Linked DNA regions of Homo sapiens: regions 1, 3 and 4 are each linked to region 2. Evidence: promoter capture Hi-C in 16 types of primary human blood cells and fetal thymus (Javierre and others, 2016). All regions are on one chromosome and are shown on one strand. The core of a region is centred on a gene start or on the middle of the fragment in contact, and the rest is flanking DNA. Distances in the headings are between cores, read along the strand shown.

The links. The method cuts DNA at HindIII sites, captures the fragments that hold promoters and counts their contacts. A CHiCAGO score of 5 or more calls a contact.
Region 1: a fragment that was not itself captured here is called in contact with the fragment with the promoter of ACVR1C in region 2 in 11 of 17 cell types (activated CD4 T cells, naive CD4 T cells, total CD8 T cells and 8 more); the score reaches 12.5 in activated CD4 T cells.
Region 3: a contact is called between a fragment that was not itself captured here and the fragment with the promoter of ACVR1C in region 2, in 1 of 17 cell types (total CD8 T cells). The highest score is 5.4, in total CD8 T cells.
Region 4: a contact is called between a fragment that was not itself captured here and the fragment with the promoter of ACVR1C in region 2, in 1 of 17 cell types (activated CD4 T cells). The highest score is 5.6, in activated CD4 T cells.

The regions. Positions count from the first base shown.
Region 1 is chr2:157,299,150-157,301,649 of GRCh38, forward strand. It overlaps GALNT5 (polypeptide N-acetylgalactosaminyltransferase 5), which reads left to right. Exons shown (of 10, transcript NM_014568.3): 6 at 399-516; 7 at 1,527-1,850. It also overlaps the pseudogene RN7SKP281. Among named protein-coding and RNA genes, the nearest start is that of ERMN, 25 kb to the right of the region's middle. The HindIII fragment of the contact is 4,525 bases long and covers 1-2,500 here.
Region 2 is chr2:157,627,492-157,630,191 of GRCh38, forward strand. ACVR1C (activin A receptor type 1C) reads right to left here and starts at 1,373. Exons shown (of 9, transcript NM_145259.3): 1 at 1,081-1,373. The coding sequence starts at 1,153. RefSeq lists a silencer at 1,088-1,317. The HindIII fragment of the contact is 11,498 bases long and covers 1-1,893 here.
Region 3 is chr2:157,349,787-157,352,486 of GRCh38, forward strand. No RefSeq gene overlaps it. Among named protein-coding and RNA genes, the nearest start is that of ERMN, 25 kb to the left of the region's middle. The HindIII fragment of the contact is 746 bases long and covers 923-1,668 here.
Region 4 is chr2:157,268,578-157,271,277 of GRCh38, forward strand. All of the region lies in intron 1 of GALNT5 (polypeptide N-acetylgalactosaminyltransferase 5), which reads left to right. Among named protein-coding and RNA genes, the nearest start is that of GALNT5, 12 kb to the left of the region's middle. The HindIII fragment of the contact is 1,406 bases long and covers 615-2,020 here.

The DNA.
Region 1 (2,500 bases), core at 1-2,500, 330 kb before region 2:
CTCACATCCAGTGTTGCAGATTCTTAATAATTGCACACACAAGATTTTTTGTGAAGTCTGGGCTGGAATATATATATAATACTTACAATAGTGCCTGATACTCCCTTAGCCCTGAATAAGTGTTAAAAATAACATTCCTGGACAGTTTGTGTCACAGTATAAAGGACAAATAATACTAGTTCCAGGATGCATCTTTGCTGAACCTAATCTAGCTCTGCCACCATGATCCAGGGATCGCATCACTTAAGCCCTATTTGTGACTCCATCCCAGGGCTTCCCTGCATCAGGTAGCTATTCTGAAAAGCCTCCTACCTCCCGTACAGATGTACAGAGGAACAACTCTAAAAGTCGAGCTTTCATGAGATGCAAGTTTAAAAAACAAACTTTTCTTTTTGTAGGTGCCCTGTCATGGCTGGTGGATTGTTTTCTATTGACAAAAGTTACTTTTTTGAACTTGGAACATACGACCCTGGCCTTGATGTTTGGGGTGGGGAAAATATGGAGCTCTCATTCAAGGTATTACCAGGTGTTTCCCAACTTTTCTTTACGATAATGAGTTAATCAATTTTAAATGGTTTGATTTTACTACCATAATCAGGTATGTGACTGCCACTGAGAGGAAATTTCACAGAAATTTTAGGGTCTCTGGATTAATTTTTTCATATCTCAGATTGAATTTGGAAGAATCAATTGCTGTCATAAAATTTATTAGCATTCCCTAATATTTCACAACACCATTTCTGCTTATAAATATGGGGGAAATGACTTTCTGCCACTCAGAGTAAATGCTGTGGGAGTCATACGTGCTACAAAATAACTCTCCTGGAACATCTGTCTAGAATGTTGGAAGGAATAGACTCAATCTGTAATGGATCATCTTAGAGAACACAAATGACAGAAGTACATTAAAATACCTCTAAAGCAGGTCACCAACAGGTCAGGTGTGCCTTATAGTACAGCTCCTTTGGGCACTTTATACAATCTATTATACAATCATTGATTAACTTCTGAGAAAGCCTTGGCAACAGCAGTAGTAGAGAGTGTCCAAAAAGTAATTGCTTTCCTATTGGGTGGGTGTTCTGTATGTATGTAAAAGGGTGTAATTTTGGAGCTGCTGATCATGAAGGATGGTTTTGAGTTGTGTTCCACAAGCCTTTTGGTTCTTCCCAAAAATGAGAGTAGAGGAACGTGAACAAATGGACATCTATACTTCTTTCCCTGATTCAATCAAAACAAGAACTCATGTTTTACAAAATGGGATTCTGTGAAGATTTATTTACAAATTAAAAAAAACTTACATTGAAAGTTAGGAAAGAAAAAATTACATTTTACTAATCCTAAAATGATCCACAGCAATACACAAAATTAAATAAGCCTGTTGAGTTTGATTTTCTATTGCAAAAGTGTTTTTGAAGTTGAGTATTACTTCAGGTAGGGGGAAACAAGGTGGTTTCTTGTCATTGTTAAGTGCCGATGATTTGTGGATAATCATTTGATAATTGATGCTTATCATCAAATTCTTCCAGGTGTGGATGTGTGGTGGTGAAATTGAGATCATTCCCTGCTCCCGAGTGGGCCATATATTCAGAAATGACAATCCATATTCCTTCCCCAAAGACCGGATGAAGACAGTGGAGCGGAACTTGGTGCGGGTTGCCGAGGTCTGGCTGGATGAGTATAAGGAGCTGTTCTATGGCCACGGAGACCACCTCATCGACCAAGGGCTAGATGTTGGCAACCTCACCCAGCAAAGGGAGCTGCGAAAGAAACTGAAGTGCAAAAGTTTCAAATGGTACTTGGAGAATGTCTTTCCTGACTTAAGGGCTCCCATTGTGAGAGCTAGTGGTGTGGTAAGTTCAAGTGGCAATTTAAAATCTTACTCCATAAAAACAAAACACAAAATCTCTTTCAAAAATGTGTGGAAAGAATGAGTAATTACATTATAAATAAACACCAAGTATGAGCAAAGATGGGACAAAGCATGGCTGAGAATTAAATATAGGTAAACTTGAGGAAGGCTACCAAGTGGTCATGTTCATTGATTAACTCAACAGATATCTATTGAGTATCCGTAGATCTGGGAGTATTTCAGACTTGGATTACAGGGTGATGAATGAAGTAGACTTGGTTCCTTCCTTGTGGAGCTTAATTTGGGTAGAGAAGAAAGATTATAAACAAATAAGCAAGTCAAGTGTAAATACAAAATATAATAGCTCTCATTTAGGGAACAGGCCACAGTTGATGACTCCTCAGTTAGAGTGGCTGAGAAATCCTCTCTGAGAAGGAGACTTTGTAACTCAGGCCTAAAACACTAAGTGTCAGTCAGCCAAGCTCTAAAGAAGAGTGCTAGGCAGAGGGTAAAGGTCACGTAAAGCCCTAAGACAGGTGAGTGTTCTCCATCCAAGCACTGGAAAGAAGACGAATGTTGTCAGGGTGTGAAGGAGGGAAGAATGGCACCAGATGAAGGTGAAGAGGAAGGAAGGAGCCAGATCACACAGGT
Region 2 (2,700 bases), core at 123-2,622:
CATCTGAAACACTGAAATCTGTACATGACAGCAATCATATCATTCAAATCATTCTCTTGCACATGTCACTAAGAGGAAAACGACCCACCATGAATATAGCTATTAATGTCAAACAGATTGTCATCTGGGAAAACAAAATGCATCAAAATCAGCTTCGGACAAAACACAGCTCTATGGGAAAACACCAGATTTTTATGTGCAAATGTCTTCAATGTCTGATAGAAATTTTTAAAGAATGAGTTAGCAAAGAATCTGCTCCTCCTCTGCATAATCCAGGACAATGTAATGAAAATAGTTTTCGAGGTAAAGGGCTTTTAGTCACAGCATATTATGATTTTACCAAAGATGCATTTGCCCCACTTTCTAGTAAACATTATAAAGAAACGTCTGGCTTCTAGATTGGGTAGAGGGCTCTATTTAGCCTATCAAGGCACAGACCTGTTATAAACTCTGGGGCGCTTGCCAGAATTTTTTTCCCCAGGAACTCTGAGTAAAGATCGTACCTCGAAAGCAATGTGCGTTGCAAACCACACAGATTTAAGCTCCCACTCTCGCCTCCATAGCTTGGCATCTGCGGCTTTTGGGGTATTCCCCGCCTCCTAAAACTCAGACTAAATCACCACCTCCCACCACCACCATGCCACCATCCTTGAGCAGCTCTCAGGGGCTTAGCACAGAGCGCGTCCGACGCATACCTGCAGCCCTCCAGGTCCCTGCAGGGTGAACCCAGCTCCCAGCCATGCGCGCACCCACAAACGCTCTCCTATTTTCTCCGCTGCAAACTGCCCACAAATTAGTCACCCACCTCACCCCTACTACTTATTCCCCCACGTCCCTGCTGCCTTTTCCCTCTTCCGGGCGGCTTCGTCCCCAACACACCTGTCTACCCCTACGGCTGCCAGACGTCAGGTGCCCACGCTGCACCCTATCCCGCGCCCCCTCAATCCGACTGGCGCTTCCCTGTCCGCCCCGAAGGTCAGTTTGCTCGGAGCACCCCCTGTCCCCCACCCCCGTGCTCACCCGCAGACCTCCTCCCAGCTCCCACCCTCGCGGGCGTCGGGAGAGAAACCAGCACCGTACCTGGCGAGAGCTCGGCGGCCGCTGCGAGCAGCAGGAGAGCCTGGCGGAGCGCTGAGCAGAGCGCCCGGGTCATCGCCACCAGGCGGCCGCGCCGGGGCTGCGAGGCCCCAGAGCAGAGCGAGGCAGCCGGGGCAGCACGGCCCGCTTTGAAGTTCCCGGGCCGCGGGAGGGGAGCGCGGCACCGACACCCTTTTGAAGTGCGCGGTTGGCTCTAGTCAGTGTGGGCGCCCCCCTCCCCGGCCGCCCCCATCCCACGCCCCCTGCGGCTGGCGGTGCGCGGCGCTCCTGCCACTGGCCCCGCAGCCGGGCGGGGAGCGGGTGGTGGGGCGGGCGGCAGAGCCCGCCCCTGCCGCGCCTCCGCCCCCTGCGCCCTCTCGCAGCCGCCCGGGCCTGCTGCTGCAGGGCAGGCAGGCAAAGGCGGCCCTGTGCCCGGCAGTGAGATCGCCCAGAGCTGGGGCGAAGAAAGAGGGGGCGTGGGGAAGCAGTGCGGAGCCTCCGGGACTAGATACTCAGGAATGGGGCTTCTCACGGGAGGAAAAGCCCCACTGAGACTTTAGGGAAACTTCAACTACGCGGCGATTGCGCCCAGGTGATCCGCTCTATAACCTCCCGCAGAAGAGCCAGCCTCCTAGCTCTCCTGACGTTTGTTGTCCAGGGTCCTTAAGTCCAACCAGGTTGCGCTGTGAGAGCCCCGCGGGCTTCCTACTGGCTTGTCCCACCCCTGCGTCCTGGCCATTTGTGCCTCTGGGGAAGGGCGCCCTCTCTGTTCATCCCTGGAAATGACCAGTTGTCCGACTGCCTTCTGGACCTATAAGCTTTGGTTTAACAAACTTCATCTCTTCTTGGGTGCCTTTTGGGAACCCTTCCCTCTATGAATGGCGACCAAAGCTGGACCACCTGCGCCAGGTGATGTGGCCATCTACAATGTGTGACCCACGTCTGGTGGTAAAAGACCTCACCTATGGAAGATAATTTCGGCAGCTACAACTTCAGCAATTGAAGAACTAAGGGAACATACACACACACACACACACACACACACACACACACACACACACACGGATTAAGGGAAGGGGAAGAATTGTTTAAAGTAGTATATGAAAAACTTGTTTGAGTATTGTTTAATCCCTAGAGGCTAACTGTCAAACGGGTGCCTGAAAATATAAGGCCTGGATTGTGCCTGAAAATATAAGGACAACGGCAACATTACCAATTTATAGAAATTAAATTCAATTCACCTATGGAGCCTGAACATTAAAGTGAATGGGATTATTTCAATCTGAACAACGCGAAAAAGCAAGAATACAATACTGGTGTTATTACTACTGTTGGGGGTTCCTTGAAAAGTGATAGCGTCATAAAAATTGCTTTAGAGTAAAACATTTCTTGCTTCTTCACCTAGCTCAGGACTAAATTATATGCTAGGTGTTCTAAGTTCTATGAAAGACCTATGGTGAAATGTTGTATGTAATTGACTTTATTATCAAAGGATCACAGTATGGGAGATGAGATGGTTGTTGGACTTTGAGATGTGGGTGGCATCCTGAGGATCTTTTCTGCCACCATCTTATATTCCTAAGCACAAAAAAACTTTGTTCTTGTTTTATCCTGGATCCAAAC
Region 3 (2,700 bases), core at 46-2,545, 280 kb before region 2:
AGGTTTGGCAAAAATTATGAAGTTATTATATGAAAGACTGAGGAAACATTCGATAATGTAATATACACATTTTAATCTATTTGCCTATTATCAATGAAGTTATATTTTTATTAATTATTATTAAAAAATAAGTCTCTGAAAAATTTGTGCTTTACAGGTTCCTAAGCCTGATTCTTGAAGCCTCTCACACAGAAGTTTTAAAAGATTCCCTAGTAAATAATAAAAAGAAAGTTTGCATTTGATATCTGACTTTTATTTCCTCTAGGTTAGGGGTAATATCTACCTTCTTTATATGCTCTACAGCATCTATTAGAAGGCTGAGTGCACAAGTGTTTTTAAGTAAATATTCAAATGTGCTGAATTGACATTTAGGTGTGTCAAAAATGTTTGTGGGTGATATATGTGTGCCTCCCCTGCTCTTCTCAAAGTACCTCCAGCTGTTAATACTACCAGAGCAATTTCCACCCAATTTCCCTCTCAACTCTGAAGTTATAGCTCAGATAATGTGGCGACCAGTCTGAATCACAGAATCTTTAGCTATTTGTCATTTCCATAATGTCTGCCAGCATCTTGTAAGCTGGCTGTGTGATGTCCAAGACCAGATAAAGGAATTGCACTTTTCTCCATAGCTTATATATGCTAAGTCCCTTTACCACACTATAATTGTCTTTAATTTTTTCCCAGTTCAGTCCCTGCTCTCCAATGCCATGACAACACACATCCTATAAAGAGAGTCTTTACAAATAGTCATGAGATGAGGACTTTTGACATTTCTCTTCAGGGATCTTATCCACATCCATTTTCTCTGCCTGTTGGTTCTTGACATTTTAATGTCTGAAGAGCTTACATTCTATATAACCAATAGGAAGGGGAAAATAATATCTTTACCTTCTGATCACAAAGAAAGTTGTTCAAAGTCCTAAGCTTAATACAGTACGCAAAATGTTTCCAGAATTCTTGAGTGAGGCATTCCAATATTCATGAGAAACATTATTTACCATTACAGTATCTAAAGAGGAACCCAAAGTCTGCAGAAGTAGGCAAGTTAACACTAGATTTAAAATTTTCTGCCCTTTAAGCTGTGTTTGTAGAACCCACACCAATTCCATTTGATTAGCATCTTCTCTAAATCTATGTAATCCTCTCAACCTGTTCTATACTTTTCCTTTATCTCTGACTCTTGGTGTTAAAGTCCTTAATTAAAAAGTAACACAGATGACTGACAAGCACATACATATACATACACAATTGGCTAGAATCCAAAATTCTAACATTTGTCTGGCTTGCTAGGTTGTCCACTGGAGCCTAGATTTTGAACCTTTTGAATATCAGGCTGGCTGACTGCCAACTGATGGTTCAAACATTCAACCAGTCTTCTATCTAATCTGCCCTCAAGAAGGAATCTGGGAAAAGCCAAAACCTGATTTTCCCTTTATATATGAATTCTCTCATCATCCTCCAAGCAGCCCAATAAGATAGGTCTTATTAACTGTATCATATGGAGTAGGAAACCTGAGATTAGAAAGTTAAATAAGTTGCTCAAGGTCATGGAACTAGTGAAGGGCAGAGTGTGGTTAAAAGTCAACTCTGTAGGATGAGAAAATCCATTTGTTTCTATTATACCAACCAGCTCCACAATGGTGTTATTCAAAAAGCTAATCTTAAGAAAGCTTTAGAGTAGTAAAGAAATATTAACTTGCCTTTAATATTAGCTTATCACTTGCTCTAGGAAGCCACTATTCTTCCTCATCTGTCCAATCAGATACTTGACTCTTAACAGCTGTAAAATATCATCTCTGGCAGCTTTTGATGATAAAACAACTCCAACGTTCAAATGCTACTGCTGTTGCTTCATGCAGGTGTACCTTGTTTTATTGTTCCTCATTGTATTGCTCTTTGCAGATATTTCTTAGAAATTGAAGGTTTGGGAAAATTCTGCATGGAGCGAGTCTATCAGCACCTCTTTAACAACTGTTCTCACTTCATATCTTGCCTCTGTGTCATACTTTGGTACTTCTTGCAATATTTCAAAGTTTTTCATTATTATTATATCCGTTATGGTGATCAGTGATCTTTTTTGACTGTTTGTTTGCTTTTTTTTTTTTTGAAAACTTGAGACAGGGTCTCACTCTCTCACCCAGGCTGAAGTGCAGTTGCACAATCACAGCTCACTGCAGCCTCAACCGCCTGGGCTCAAATGATCCTCCTGCCTCAGCTTCCAGAGTAACTAGGACCACAGGGTATGCACCACCACACTTGGACAATCACTGATCTTTGATGTTACTATTGTAATTGTTTTGGGGTGCCACAAACAAACTGTACCTGTATACGACAGTGAACTTAATTGATAAATGTTGTGTGTATTCTAACTGCTCCACTGACGGAGGAGCAGGCGGTGAACTTAATTGATAATGTTGTATAAGACGGTGAAGTTAATTGATAAATGTTGTATGTATTCTAACTACTCCACTGGCTGGCCATTTCTCCCCTCCCCACAACATATCCTTGGGCATCCACAATTCCCCAAGACACAATGGTACCAAAATTCAGCCAATTAACCCTACACTGGCTTCTAAGTGTCCGAGTGAAAGGAATAGTCTCTCACTTTAAATCAAAAGGAGGAAATGATTGAACTTAGCAAAGAAGACATGTTGAAGGCCAAGATAGACAAATGCTGGGCATCTTGTGCCAAATACTTAG
Region 4 (2,700 bases), core at 68-2,567, 360 kb before region 2:
AGGGGCCTAACTGACTTGCCCATGGCCATAGGGCCAATAAATGCTAGAATGAACTAAAAACTTAGTCTCTTGTCATCTTTCTCAAGTCCAGAGTCTTTCTGTCCACCACAGTAGTATGTCAGCTAAGTGCAGGATAGTGAAACTCCCCACATTAGAGGCCCCATTTGTTTTTAGAACTTGGATTGGCTGCAGTAATCTAAGCCTAGATTCCCCCCCAAGACAAAGAGATTGGATTAATTTTTTAAGTATAGCATGGGACCAGTAGACTCTAAATACCTAATTTGTATAATAAATAGGCATATAGAATATAAATGTGATTTCTTAGCCTCAAAAAAGTTACAAACCTAGAAATATCTGGCATTCAAATTAGACTTTAGCAGCAATTTCTCCTCCCATGATATAGGCAGAAATTAAGGAAAAACTGAAATAAAGGAAACTTGCTTGAATTAGGTTGGTGTAGGATAACTTGAAATGGTTTTTACAACCTATGCCAACTAGATGACATAGTGTCTGCCCAGAATATTCTCCATTCTCCTCAAGCCCCTACCCTATTACATTAGCAAGTAACCTTTCTTCCAGTATGAAAGACTAGAGTAAGAGTTTAAAATGCTGAAAGCTTTGCGGGGGTTTCCCACTGTTCCTTTGAACAAAACAAGCACACTAGTTTTGCTAGATACCCGGAAACATGTTTAATCTGTTTAGTAATGCAGGAGAACAGGTCTCTGTAAATGTCAGAGTGCCTTGACATGTCAGTCACCCCAAATCAAGGCACACCCTGAAACTTTGTATTGGAAATCTCAGGCATCTCTTTTGGGTCCCTCTTTCCCATCCTGTAATATTGCTTTTACCAGGCACTAATATGATCTGTACCATATAATCTTCCACAGAATTTCTTCATTGTAATTCTTTAAACACATCTAAGATATATATTTGTCAACAATTGGCAGAGGTACTACTTATTTGCTGGGATATTAGCATCTAGTGGAATCTCTCATGATCTGCCCATGTAGGGTACTAATAGTGAAATTAAGGCACCATGACATAATCGGGGGAATAGAGGATTAGATATTTGGTGATTAGAGGTGTCTTCCCCAAATCTCTCAAATTTCTGAGAATTTTTCTTACCTCCAATTTTAGACTGTCTAGCACTTTTTAGAACTTCCTTCTAAAAAGGACAAAAACTCTACTAATTTAAAATATAGGAAGAGTCATTTGCATGAGCCTGCTTAGTTAACTCCTCCTGATACAATTCCTTTTGTCACTGGATGTTTCTCAGACCAACCAAATTTTAACCATAAAGCAACTCTCAGGACTTCACAGCCGGGCTTGTTGGTTTATGCCGAATTTGTGTAATTGATCCTTTCTTTTCAGAACTGATTTGATTTTTTTTTCAGCACCAAATACCATTAAAAAAAATGTAACTGTGAAATGTGAATTTCTCATTAATTTATATTATAAAGTTAGAGATGAGGAAGTCATAGGCTGTAGCTGTTTTCTTCTGTACCCTCCCTTTCACTCAGGCTATTAAACTCCCCTTAGCTTTACTTCCTCTTTCCCTGACCCAGAGCCCATGCCGGAACATTCAACCACCTTACACCAGTCCCCTCAAACCTCACTACCCATTCTCTTTCTACCTCATGTGCTCTGATATCCCTTAGACTCATATTAATCCAGCAATTTGCTTTATCTCTTCTTACACGCAGGCTGGCAGGCACTGGTGGAGCAAATCATATATTGAAATTTCATAAAATTTTGGCATCTCCAGTTTCAGGAAAGTGCTCACTGCCCCTCTGAAATCCTAGCTAGCTGGCCAGCATTCTCTCCCATTGCCCATAGTATCTGTCCAAAATATTCTCCATTCTCCTCAAGCCCCTAGCCTATTACATTAACAGATAACCCTTCCTCCAGTATGAGCTATGAATATTTTCAACTTCTCATCCCATGTGCATAAATATATTTGTATACGTTACCACCTTTTTGTACTTTCTATCTCAAAGGGAAATATTTCTTCCACTATTTAAGCTTTAAGTTCCATCTCATCTCCATCCATTCATTCATGCATTCAATACATATTTATCAAATATTTATTGTGTAACTGTGCTGGAAGCTTGTGGTACTGTAGTAAGCAAGGCAGATTTGTCCTACCCTCAGAAAATTTTGGATGCAGAAGATAAGGAAATAAGATTGATAGATGAATGCTGTGACAGAAACACAATAATAGAGAATAATAAAAGAATAGTTAATTTTGAGAGGGTAGGCCAGGTGCAGTGGCTCACGCCTGTAAACCCAGCACTTTGGGAGGCTGAGGCGGGTGGATCACAAGGTCAGGAGATCGAGACCATCCTGGCTAATATGGTGAAACCCCGTCTCTACTAAAAATACACAAAAATTAGCCAGGCGTGGTGGCAGGTGCCTGTAGTCCCAGCTACTCAGGAGGCTGAAGTAGGAGAATGGCGTGAACCCGGGAGGCGGAGCCTGCAGTGAGCAGTGATCACGCCACTCCACTCCAGCCCAGACTCTGTCTCAAAAAAAAAAAAAATGTGAAAGCGTTGTCAGAGACGGCATCTCTATGAAGGGAATATTTAAGATAGGAACTAAAGGAATAGAAGCAGCCAGCTGCGAAGACATGGGAAGGGTAGCAAAAATGCTAGAAGTTAAGCAAATAACAAAAGCTGGAGTGTTCTTCAGGGAACTGAAAGA